Regions from separate parts of the Homo sapiens genome. Here all the other regions are linked to region 2. The links are contacts of gene promoters, found by promoter capture Hi-C in blood cells and fetal thymus (Javierre and others, 2016). All regions are on one chromosome and are shown on one strand. Each heading gives the region's core, a stretch centred on a gene start or on the middle of the fragment in contact. The rest is flanking DNA. Distances are from core to core; before and after follow the strand shown.

Region 1 (3,464 bases), core at 791-3,290, 870 kb after region 2:
GTAGGGAGGACAGAGAAAGATAGAATACCTGGACAGCTCTCCAAGGCAGGAAAAGGTTCTAGGATTTGACTCCCCTCACTCCCAATTGATCCTCTCACCTCTAAAACATTTCCCTGGATTTTGGGGCTAGCAGTGCTCAGCATATAGTGGCTTCAGGAGTCCCAAGGAGTAGAAATATCTATGTGGACACTACCTTCCGGATCCCGCTGCCTCCGCCCCCAGGCAAGATTAATGAACATCGTCTTAGACTGAAAGAGAAGTGGAAAGCCGGAGTGAAGAGGAAACTTTGTCTTTCTTTGGACCCCTTACTTCCTCTACCTTCCTTAACCCTATGGATAGGAAGATGGAGGAGAGAAGCAAAGAAGGAGAAGAATACAGAAAGAGAAAAAGGAGGAGAGAAAAGTAGGAGATAACAGATAAAAAGGTCACGGAAGAGGACTTACCTGTAAAAGCTGGGGCTTTGCTAGGGACACAGAAAGGAGGGAGGTGCTGGGCTGCCCTTTGCAGCTGGCTGCCTAGGGCTAGAAGCTCTTCGGGAGGAGGCGGAGAAAGGGGGGTTGAGCATAGAAGGTGCCCACCTCCTGCTCTCAGCAATGTGGGGATAGACTCAGCCCACCCACCTGGCCCCAGCACACTTGCTTGGAGCTCAAAAAGGGTCAGTTTGAAGGAGTTTTATACCAGCTTCTTCCCTGGGAGAGGAGCCAAGAGAGGCCTATGGCAGCTTCCAGATATTAAGTTCCACAACCCCTGCCCCCACCTCCAGCCCTTCATCAGAGTCCCTACTTACTTGCTGTTTTAGGGCATTTTCAGCGACTTCACTCTCTTCTACCTCAAACGCCATCCACTTTTGGAGACAGGTACCACTGCCCCTAGGCAGGGACTTGGGAGAGGACCTTATGAGTCAAACCTCTATGAACCCCAACCTTTTTGTACTCGGGGAGGCTGAACCCCTGCCCAAAATAGCGCGGTGAAAGCTACTGCCTTCTCCCAAGTAGGGGCCTCCAGTACTGCCACAGCAGGGGCCGCATTCCTGGCGCCTCTTCATTCGAAAAACCTCTTTCCAGGAGACTTCGCTGATTCTGAACGAATACTTTAAAATATGGGCAAGGGAAAAAAAAAGACAACTCTTAGAAACTCTCCCCACCCAACATACCTGGAGTGCAGGCGAGGTCCAGGCAAACGGGAAAGCGACTTCTTGTACGAATAGCCATCTCAAGATGAAGCCAGGCTGTGGAAAACTTAAGGCCATCTAGATGGGAAGGAGGTATTTAAAAGAAATCAGCACACACTCTTACAGAAGCCAAGGCGGGTCTTTAAATTAAAAAATAATAATAAGGTATTTATTTCTTGCCCCTTAGGGAAGAAAAATAGCAAAGTTTGGTTCGCAGGAGTAAGGAGACAGAGGTGGGTAGGGAGAGGGAGGAGAAAAGAGGAAAAGATGGCCCAGCCTCAAGCTCTCCAGTCAACTTGGGGCGGGGGAATACATTTTTCCGTAGCTTGTAAAAAGACTTTTCAGCCAGTTTGAGGTTAGCTGCCAGGGGCAGACAGTTGTAATAATGCCGACAGAATTGAGGCTTGTAAGCCGGGCTTCACACTTCTAAAATGCAGTTATGGATTCTTTCATCGGTGTTAGATCAAGGCACCAAGTTAAGAAAACAAAAGTCAAAACAACAATAAAAGAAAAAATCAAAAGCTTATTTAATTACCGAGTCCCGCTGCCCCTGCGGAACTCGCCGCGCGCGTTAAGCTCTCTTTTCTTTCTGCGGAATTCCATTTGCATCCCCTCTGCCTGGGTGTCTCCCTCTCTCAGTGTGTGTGTCTCTCTGTCTGTTTTCACACTCTCCTCCCCAATCGAGCGAGGCCCACACCTGGCGCATCACTGCCGAGCCATTAGCTGCGGGTTTCCTTTCATCTTCGCTGTGGCAGACGTTTCTATTTATCCACTTGCGCTCGCCGAGTGGCGTCACCAGCGGTACTGTAATGACGATTGCAGCAGGAGGATGACAGCTTAGAAAGAAGAGGGCAATGGGGCTTCCTCCCAGAGGCGGTGCGGCACAGAGGAGCGCTCGCTTCACAAGGTGACCCTAGCTCCCACCGCCACCGCCGCGGTCGCGGTCCAGACCGCGCTCCAGCAGCTCCGCGCCCTCCCAGGCACCCGGCCTTTCTTTCTCCCTCTTGCAACCAAGATCCGTCCGGCCGCTGGAGACCCAGGGAGCCGGGGTTAGGAACTCACTTGGGGCTTTCCCCTCCCCCACCGGAGAGCCCCGGGATGGAGAGCCGAAAGGACATGGTTGTGTTTCTGGATGGGGGTCAGCTTGGCACTCTGGTTGGCAAGAGAGTCTCAAATTTGTCCGAAGCCGTGGGCAGCCCGCTGCCGGAGCCGCCCGAGAAAATGGTGCCCCGTGGTTGCCTGAGCCCTCGGGCCGTCCCTCCGGCCACCCGGGAGCGCGGCGGGGGAGGCCCGGAGGAGGAGCCGGTAGATGGACTCGCAGGCAGCGCGGCGGGGCCGGGCGCCGAGCCCCAGGTAGCTGGGGCGGCCATGCTCGGCCCAGGACCCCCGGCCCCCTCAGTCGACAGCCTCTCCGGACAGGGGCAACCCAGTAGCTCGGACACCGAGTCGGATTTCTATGAAGAAATCGAGGTGAGCTGCACCCCGGACTGCGCCACCGGGAACGCCGAGTACCAGCACAGCAAAGGTAGCCACCGTGCCCCTCCGCTCCCCGGGCCTCCCACTGCGCCCACCCTTCACTTCGGCGCAGGCCAGGAGGAAGACACTCCCTTCCCCTAGGGCAGGATGGCTGGGGGGACCCACCTGAGCAACTCTCTCTGCTATCTGCGTTCTGGCGGGGGTCTCCTACTGTGTTCTGGCATTGGCGGGACTGAGGGTGACAGCAGTGCCTTGAGTGCGGGGTGCTGAGGGGGCGGATGCAAGTCCTGGACTTGGGGGATTCGAAGCTCACCCCAAGCACCCAGTGTTTCAACTGCTCGGGGAATGCTTCAATTGCTCGGGGAAGACACTTTCCCCAGGCGAGGGCAAGATCAAACGCCGATCCGGGCAGTTTGTGGCTGGCAGGGTGTAAGAGGCATGGAGGCGCGGAAGCCAGGAGTCCATAAAGGACCGTAAAATTGCGGCCCACTTGGGCAGCCCGGGTGCTGCAGCCCTCCGACCAGTTTGCACGTCGGTCAGAGGTCCAAATTACCTTGTCACTTCCCGGGCTTCGCGGCGCCAGGTCGGAAATGGTCCCAATGGTCTAATTGCCTTTGGTCTCCGGTTGCATTTGAAAAGGCAGAGATCGGGTCCTCCCCCCTTCCCCTTTCCTTCCTAGTCCCACTTCTCCACCCAAAGGAAAAGGAGCTGCAGGGGGCTGGAGCCCCACCCTTCTCAGAGGTAGGCCCAAAGGGGGGCTGGTTTAACTGGAGAACCCCTCCCCACCAAAGGCTAATGGGAAAGGGGTGGATAGCCC
Region 2 (3,278 bases), core at 298-2,797:
TTACTTAAATCAGAGGAAGGATTTTATAAAGATTAATAAATTTAATTTTACCAATAAATATTCCCATAATTTAGAAAAGGATGTCGACTTGCTAATTTCAGAAATAATTATTCATTTTTAAAAAGCCCCTTTTAAAGCATCTACTTGAAGATTGGTATAATTTTCATAAAATGTCTTTTTTTTTAGTGTCCCAAAGATATCTTAGATAAACTATTTTGAAGTTCAGATTTCAGATGAGGCAACATTTTCTTGAGATAATTACCCAAGTTTCATCCATGTTGAATGGTACAAAATATTTCTGTGAAACTAACAGGAAGATATTTTCAGATAACTAGGATAACTTGTTGCTTTGTTACCCAGCCTAATTGAAGAGTGGCAGAGGCTACTACAAAAAGCAACCTTTTCATTTTCACTAAGAGTTTAAAAGCTATTGTATTATTAAAAAGTCTTTACAATGCTTGTTTCAAAGAACCAACAGAAAAAAAAGCTAAGAAAACTGAGAACTAACATTAAAAAAATTAAATTTAGAATAAGAATGATTTCTTTAATTTGTCCTTTTTTTCTTTGGTCTAAAACATTATTAAATTTTTGTAAATATTTTGATTTAATGTGTCTTAGATCCTCATTATTTTAATACAGGAAAAGAAAAGATTTAGTAATTTCTTACCATGCTAATATGTAAAGTTCATGCCATCCAGGCATTTAAGAGCGATCCTCATCCCTTCAGCAATATGTATTTGAGTTCACACTATTTCTGTTTTACAGCAGTTTTGAAAAACACATACTATGCCACCAATTGTCATATTATTTTTAGATGATGTAACATAGCCATCAAAATTAATATTATGTAATGCCTAATACTTAGTATGTAAATGTCACGAGATCATTTTTACATTAAACGTGAAAAAAAATCAACTTTGCCGGATCACTTATTTTATACAAGAGAATATATTCTGCCTTAGACCCAAACTCAGTGTTTTTTATTTTTTATGAGGAAATTTGGTAAAACATGGTTTAATATTAGCTATAGTTGTACATATTTGAGGCTTTTAGCCTTGGTTTAGTTGTTTCAATGTCCACACACTGGCTTCTTAAAACTGATTTCTTGCAGCTGAGATATTTAGATGAACTTCAGTTCCCAGTGGTTTTCTTGCTTTGTCTCTTATTTTTCTCTGGCATATTTTTTATAAAGCTTTCTTTAGGAAAAAGAAAATAATTACTGATGTAGCTAACTTGAATAGATGTTTATTTAACACTATTTTTAATGTGACTTAAATGTAAAGAATTCTAATCCTGGATTCTTTATGATTACAATACAGCAAAACTGCATTTTCCCTGGCTGATTCTTAAAGGGTAAACTATTCACCTATAAAGCCAACTTACGTGTTTTGTTGTAGAACTAGATTTATATATAACCCAAAGGTGTCAACAGCACTGAACGTCAACAACCTGTTACTTCGGCTTCTTATAAAGTCTCACTTAGAAGAAAGTTACTTAATTCTAGTTAAAATTTCAAGTTTTAAAAATTACTAGGGACAAACAAGTATTTATTTTTAAGCAGATACTATTCCTTAAGATATGAAGTATCTTGCCAGTTTTTCAAACCTAGTCCACATTTTATTGAATAATTAAATACAAACAAGTGATATGCAGTATAAAGTAAAAGAACAAAGTTTCTTTTATGACAATTAAGAAGTTAAACAACTTCATTTAGCCTGGCCACAATAACCGTTATATCCAACAGTAAACTGGACGTTGTTTTGAATTTGGTTTGTATTTGTTGGATGCCTTAAGGATTCATTATTATTGAGCTACTGTGATACCAATAAGGTTTTCAGTATTTGAGCTATAAAAGACAACCCCTTTTCATTAGAGGCCCCTTAACATTTTAAACGAAAATAACAAAGCTTATTCTGTTTCTAAATAGTCTTCCTCTTAATATTTAAATTACTTAGCTGGTATCCTGTGAATACAAGGCAACATCTTTTCAATGAAGGAAACAATTTCAGTACAATTTTGTGTTTTTGTTTGGAATATAGACCTTTTCTTAGTTTATTATATATAAACACATTTTCAAATACAAAATACTGTCTGAAATTAGTTACTGCAATTTGACATTCAAAGCATAGAATTTTCTTTGCAAATAAAGGTCATAAGAAATTAATAATTTTAATAGAGTGGAGTTCAAAAATTTCAGAAGGATGTAAATAAGCAACAATTTCTTTAACATTTGCTATATATACAAAGGACTTTGGTTCTATTCTTTGCCATATGCATCTTACAAACGAGTCACCATTGTCCCTTTTTAGCAGACACAATTGCGCTTCACTCCTACTGCAAACTTTTCTAGATCATGAGCAGTGCATTGGACACTAATTTATTTTAGCTGCGCAAACTCTGGTAGTTAATGACCCTTTCTCTTTCTCCAAAATTCCAAAGACTTCTTTTCAAAAGATATAGAGGAAAAGAGAAAAAAAACCATTAAGCTACAATTTCCTGCTGAATTTAAACTCTGGTCTAAAGACACTATGTAAATGGCTTATGCTAAAGAGGAAAATACCCTTTCTCCCCCGACGAGAAGTGTAGATTCATCCAACCCCACACCGCTTGTCTTTGCTGCTAGAGGCACAGCACGGGCATAACTTGTGGTTGTGTTTTTGCTAGTTTCTTACCTCTGGGCCTTCTTTATAGCTTTGCCCCCCACCCCACTGGCGGTGGCGCTCCCGCGGCTGCACCCTCGGCCGCCTGTTGGTTGCGGCGCCTCCGCGGCCCGCGCGCATCCCCCGCGCTGCGTCCCGCACACGCGCGCTCCCGCCGCGTCCCGCCCGGGCCGCTCCGCTGGCGGCGGCGACTGGGCTGCAGGTAGCGAGCCAGCCGGCCTCGGTCCGGTAACCCATGGCAACCGCCCTGGTAACCCATGGCAACTGCGCGGCGGAAAGAAAAAAAAGAACCGTGGTGGGGCGGGGGGCGGCGGGCGGTGAATGGGAACAACGACCGCAAAGAGACAGCGATTTACCGCGCGGGCCTGCGGCTCCCGGCCGCACCTGCTGCAGACGGCCCGCGAGGCCCCTTCCCGCGCTACGGTGACGATTCTGGCTGCTGGGGAAAAGAGCAATAAGCAGAAAGCCCTCGTGCAGAGGGGATCCGGGCGGTGCACTTGGTGTGGGAGGCTGCCTTAAACGCCGATGACCCTCCCGGCCTCCGCGTGTCCCGGCTTCCAGGGCCCCGCCAGGCTGGAGAGCGCGCGTGGAGAGGGCCTTGCCGCCTGGGGGTTGGTT
Region 3 (3,280 bases), core at 567-3,066, 730 kb after region 2:
TGTGGAGAAAACGCTAAAGTCCTGCAAAGAGGGGACCTCAAGGGCCTCAGGACTGTCATTGTTTAGGCCAGCTCCACAGTTCTGGCCCATTGTTGACAAGCAGTTGGGAACAGTGGGTGACTGGTGCTGAAAATGTTTCAGATTTTTCTCATTGCTGGTTAAAGGCGAGACTGGGAAACTTTGGGAGTCGCCATTGTGTCCATTGGGAGCCTGCTGCTGAGAGAGGGCATTTTGCTGAAAAGTGTAGCCTTCCCTCTCCAGAAGGGCCCCAGAGACGCTAAGGGCTTGCTCAAAGAGCGTCTTCTCTTCCTCGTCCTCCTCTACTTTCTCGGAGTCCTCAAGGCTTTTACATTTCCCTTCGCTGTTTTGGTTTTCCTTGCACTGGGTCTGCCTCTTGTGCTTCATCCTCCGGTTCTGAAACCACACTTTCACTTGTCTCTCAGTCAAATCCAGCAGCGCTGCAATCTCCACCCTTCGGGGTCTGCAAAGGTACTTGTTGAAATGAAATTCTTTTTCCAGCTCTAGAAGCTGTGTGTTGGTGTAAGCAGTTCTCAGGCGCCGCGATCCCCCGCCGCTGCCATCGGCGATTTCCAGGGATTCTGCGGAAAGGGAAACCAACAAGAGACACACGCACAGTTGGAGGTGGAGGGGTCCGAGCGGGGTTATTCCACTGGAGAATAAATATAGCAGAAAAGATCAACTGCAACAAAATGGCCGCCCCTGGATGCAGTAGAGCTATTGTGCTGCCTTTCCTGGGAGCCCAGCCTGGGCAGACCCCGTCTCCTCCATCTCTATCGAATTCATGCCTGTGGCTCCCCCCAACCTCTTCATCCGGGAGCAAACTTTATATTAGCCACAACACAATTTATAATTAATGCGTCAGCTGCTTAGCTGAGCAAGAGCGATCTATCACTCTTCATTACTGTCAAAAAGCCAAACTCTAGGACAACTAGACAGGAGGAGGTCAGTTCCAACTCAAATAAATCATCCCACATTACACAAGTTCGGGAAAGTTTCCCCCCACTTCCTAAAAATATATATGTCTCATTGTAGAGCGCAGGATCCCCTTTCCTCTCCATCAAACCCACTCCTGAACCCACAGGGGCAGGGACAAGGCAACCAAGCATCTCTCCCTCTCCTCCTTCTCTCCCAGCCCACTCTCCCCTCCCCCCACAGCCACTCTCGGGGCAGCCCGGAGAAGGAAGAGGGTCCCAGAGACCTGGGGCCAAGTCTTTGGACTGACCTTTGTGGCTGAGGCAAGCAGGGCCGGTGGCTGCGGCGGTGGCGGCGGCGGCGGCGGCCGGCAGAAGTGCGGTTTTCTTGGCCGCCTTCTTCTCCTTCATCCAGGGGTACTCGGGCGGCTGCAGGGCGCCGGCGGGCACCGGGCTGCCGCGGCTGCCCGCGGGGCTCGGCTTGGGGCGGCCGCCAGCGCCGTGGCGAGGGTGACTGCCGGGGTTCAGGCTGGGAATGGTCTGCTCAAAAGGAGGAGGAATCAGTGTCGAGTGTGAAAGCGTCGAGGTCTTGATTGATGAACTTTGAAATGTATCAGCGACAGGGGGAAAAGATGTCAGGCACTCAGCGAGCGACGGCTGGCTATTGATAAAACCAATCTCTCGCTCAAATTCGTAATTCATGGCCTTCTCCTTGGAGCCCCCTCAGAGAAAAAGTTCCCTCTTTTGGAGGGGCTTTGGGGGGGCAAGGCCTAGGAAAAAGGCGAGCGCAGAGGAAAAAAAATCTATCATAGAATATCGCTGCTAGGGTGTTTTTTTTCTAATTCACTGATTACAGCCGTATGGGGACCGCGCTACTATTAAACTATTGAATTCATGGAGACAAGGTTGAAATTGGACCGAATTGGCTGTCACATGATTGCTTCTGCCCAATGACAATTTGGGCTTTAATCAAAAGAAGCCACTGTCTGTTTGATTGATCCAAAAAAGTCGGGAAGGAACGCCTCATTGGGGGCCAGCGAGGCTTTATTTACACTTTTTTCAGAGCAAAAATACATATATGTTGGTGTGGGTGGGGATGTCCCGGAGTACGTGGGGGCGAGGGTGCCTGCGTGCCTCCTGATCTGCAAGGATCTATCTAGTGTGTGTGCCTGGGAGTGTGTGTGTGTGTGTGTGAATGTGCGCGAGTGTAAGCCCTGCTGTCGGTCCCGCCGGTGGCTGCCCTCTGCCTCCCCCGCACACTCCGCGCATTGTTTGGGACTGTCGGGAAGACGCCTCGCACCTCACAAATCATTTAAGCACCTCAGTCTGACGCCTGCAGTCATTAACAAAGTAATCCATTAATCTTCAAAGTTTTGACACCCGAGGGCCCTGCGTCCCAGCCACATAAGTTCTGTTAAAGCAGGAGAAAGGAGCAGAGGAAGAGAGGAGATGAGAGAGGGAGAATAAAGAGAGAGGGAAGAAGAGAGAGTTTGAGAGATGGAGAAAGAGAAGACAGAAAAGAGAGAAGAAAGGAAAGATTTTGGTTGGGAAGGGGTCTTCCTTTTCTTTCCCTTTTCCTCCTTCACTTTTCCTAAAAGCAGTTCCTGGATCTCAAAACTGATCTCTCTCGGTCTGTTTTCCTTCCTGTCTGTCCCTTTCCCTCTTTTTCCTCTTCTCCCCCTTTCTCCCTCCCTCTCTCTTCTGTCCGCCTCCCCTTCTCCCCTCAGCCTCTCGCCCCCCTCCCAGTGTCCAGCCCAGAGTCTGCGCCCCGGGCCCATTGTTAGCAGGCTATTCCACGGCAGCTTTGCATCTGGCTCCGGCGGGAAGCGGAAAACGGGAGGCGGCTCTCGAAGCTTCCCGACCTTCCTGCGCCATCAACTTCTCAGGAGTGGCTGGAGAAAGATGCATGTGCCAAGCGAGACAACAACCCCAGGTCCATGTGTCCAAATCCCCGTAGCCAGGGCGGCGGCCAGCCAAAGAAATGCCGCCCCGAGCAGGCGCGTGCGGCTCCTGGCATTCTGGGTTTCATACCCGTAGGGCTCGGGTGCGGTGAGTATTTCCGATTTCCAGGAAGTCTGTTGGAAGTTACCAGCAGGGAAAGAGAAGATGCTTGCTCCTCTCTTTCCCTCCCTCTCTCTTTTTTTTCTACCCTTCTTCTTGTCCTTGTCGCTCTGGTTGGGGGCTGGTTGGTTTAGATACAGCGAGTGCTCCCTGGCAGCCTGAACTGCCTCCCACACCTTCCTGATCCTTGGGCACCGGGGATGTTTGCTTCCGGGTTCTGTTGTGGGAAACAGCACTGCGGGGGAGAGGAGGCGACCCAAGGAGGAATTATAAAGGTTTTCGTTCTC

Evidence for each region. The method cuts DNA at HindIII sites, captures the fragments that hold promoters and counts their contacts. A CHiCAGO score of 5 or more calls a contact.
Region 1: the fragment with the promoter of EVX1 here is called in contact with a fragment that was not itself captured in region 2 in 2 of 17 cell types (naive B cells and total B cells); the score reaches 27.9 in naive B cells.
Region 3: the fragment with the promoter of HOXA2 here is called in contact with a fragment that was not itself captured in region 2 in 6 of 17 cell types (total B cells, naive B cells, fetal thymus and 3 more); the score reaches 13.3 in total B cells.

What each region holds. Positions count from the first base shown.
Region 1 is chr7:27,240,762-27,244,225 of GRCh38, forward strand. It overlaps EVX1 (even-skipped homeobox 1), which reads left to right and starts at 2,041. Exons shown (of 3, transcript NM_001989.5): 1 at 2,041-2,696. The coding sequence starts at 2,270. EVX1-AS (EVX1 antisense RNA) reads right to left here. Exons shown (of 4, transcript NR_120507.1): 2 at 1,154-1,249; 3 at 788-880; 4 at 668-689. RefSeq lists an enhancer at 1,659-2,536. The HindIII fragment of the contact is 5,233 bases long and covers 1,692-3,464 here.
Region 2 is chr7:26,373,415-26,376,692 of GRCh38, forward strand. SNX10 (sorting nexin 10) reads left to right here. Exons shown (of 7, transcript NM_013322.3): 7 at 1-969. The region is part of intron 1 of SNX10-AS1 (SNX10 antisense RNA 1); the gene reads right to left. Among named protein-coding and RNA genes, the nearest start is that of LINC02981, 24 kb to the right of the region's middle. RefSeq lists a silencer at 3,266-3,278. The HindIII fragment of the contact is 715 bases long and covers 1,191-1,905 here.
Region 3 is chr7:27,100,867-27,104,146 of GRCh38, forward strand. It overlaps HOXA2 (homeobox A2), which reads right to left and starts at 1,817. Exons shown (of 2, transcript NM_006735.4): 1 at 1,244-1,817; 2 at 1-599. The coding sequence starts at 1,634. RefSeq lists an enhancer at 1,652-2,491. The HindIII fragment of the contact is 6,069 bases long and covers 1-2,783 here.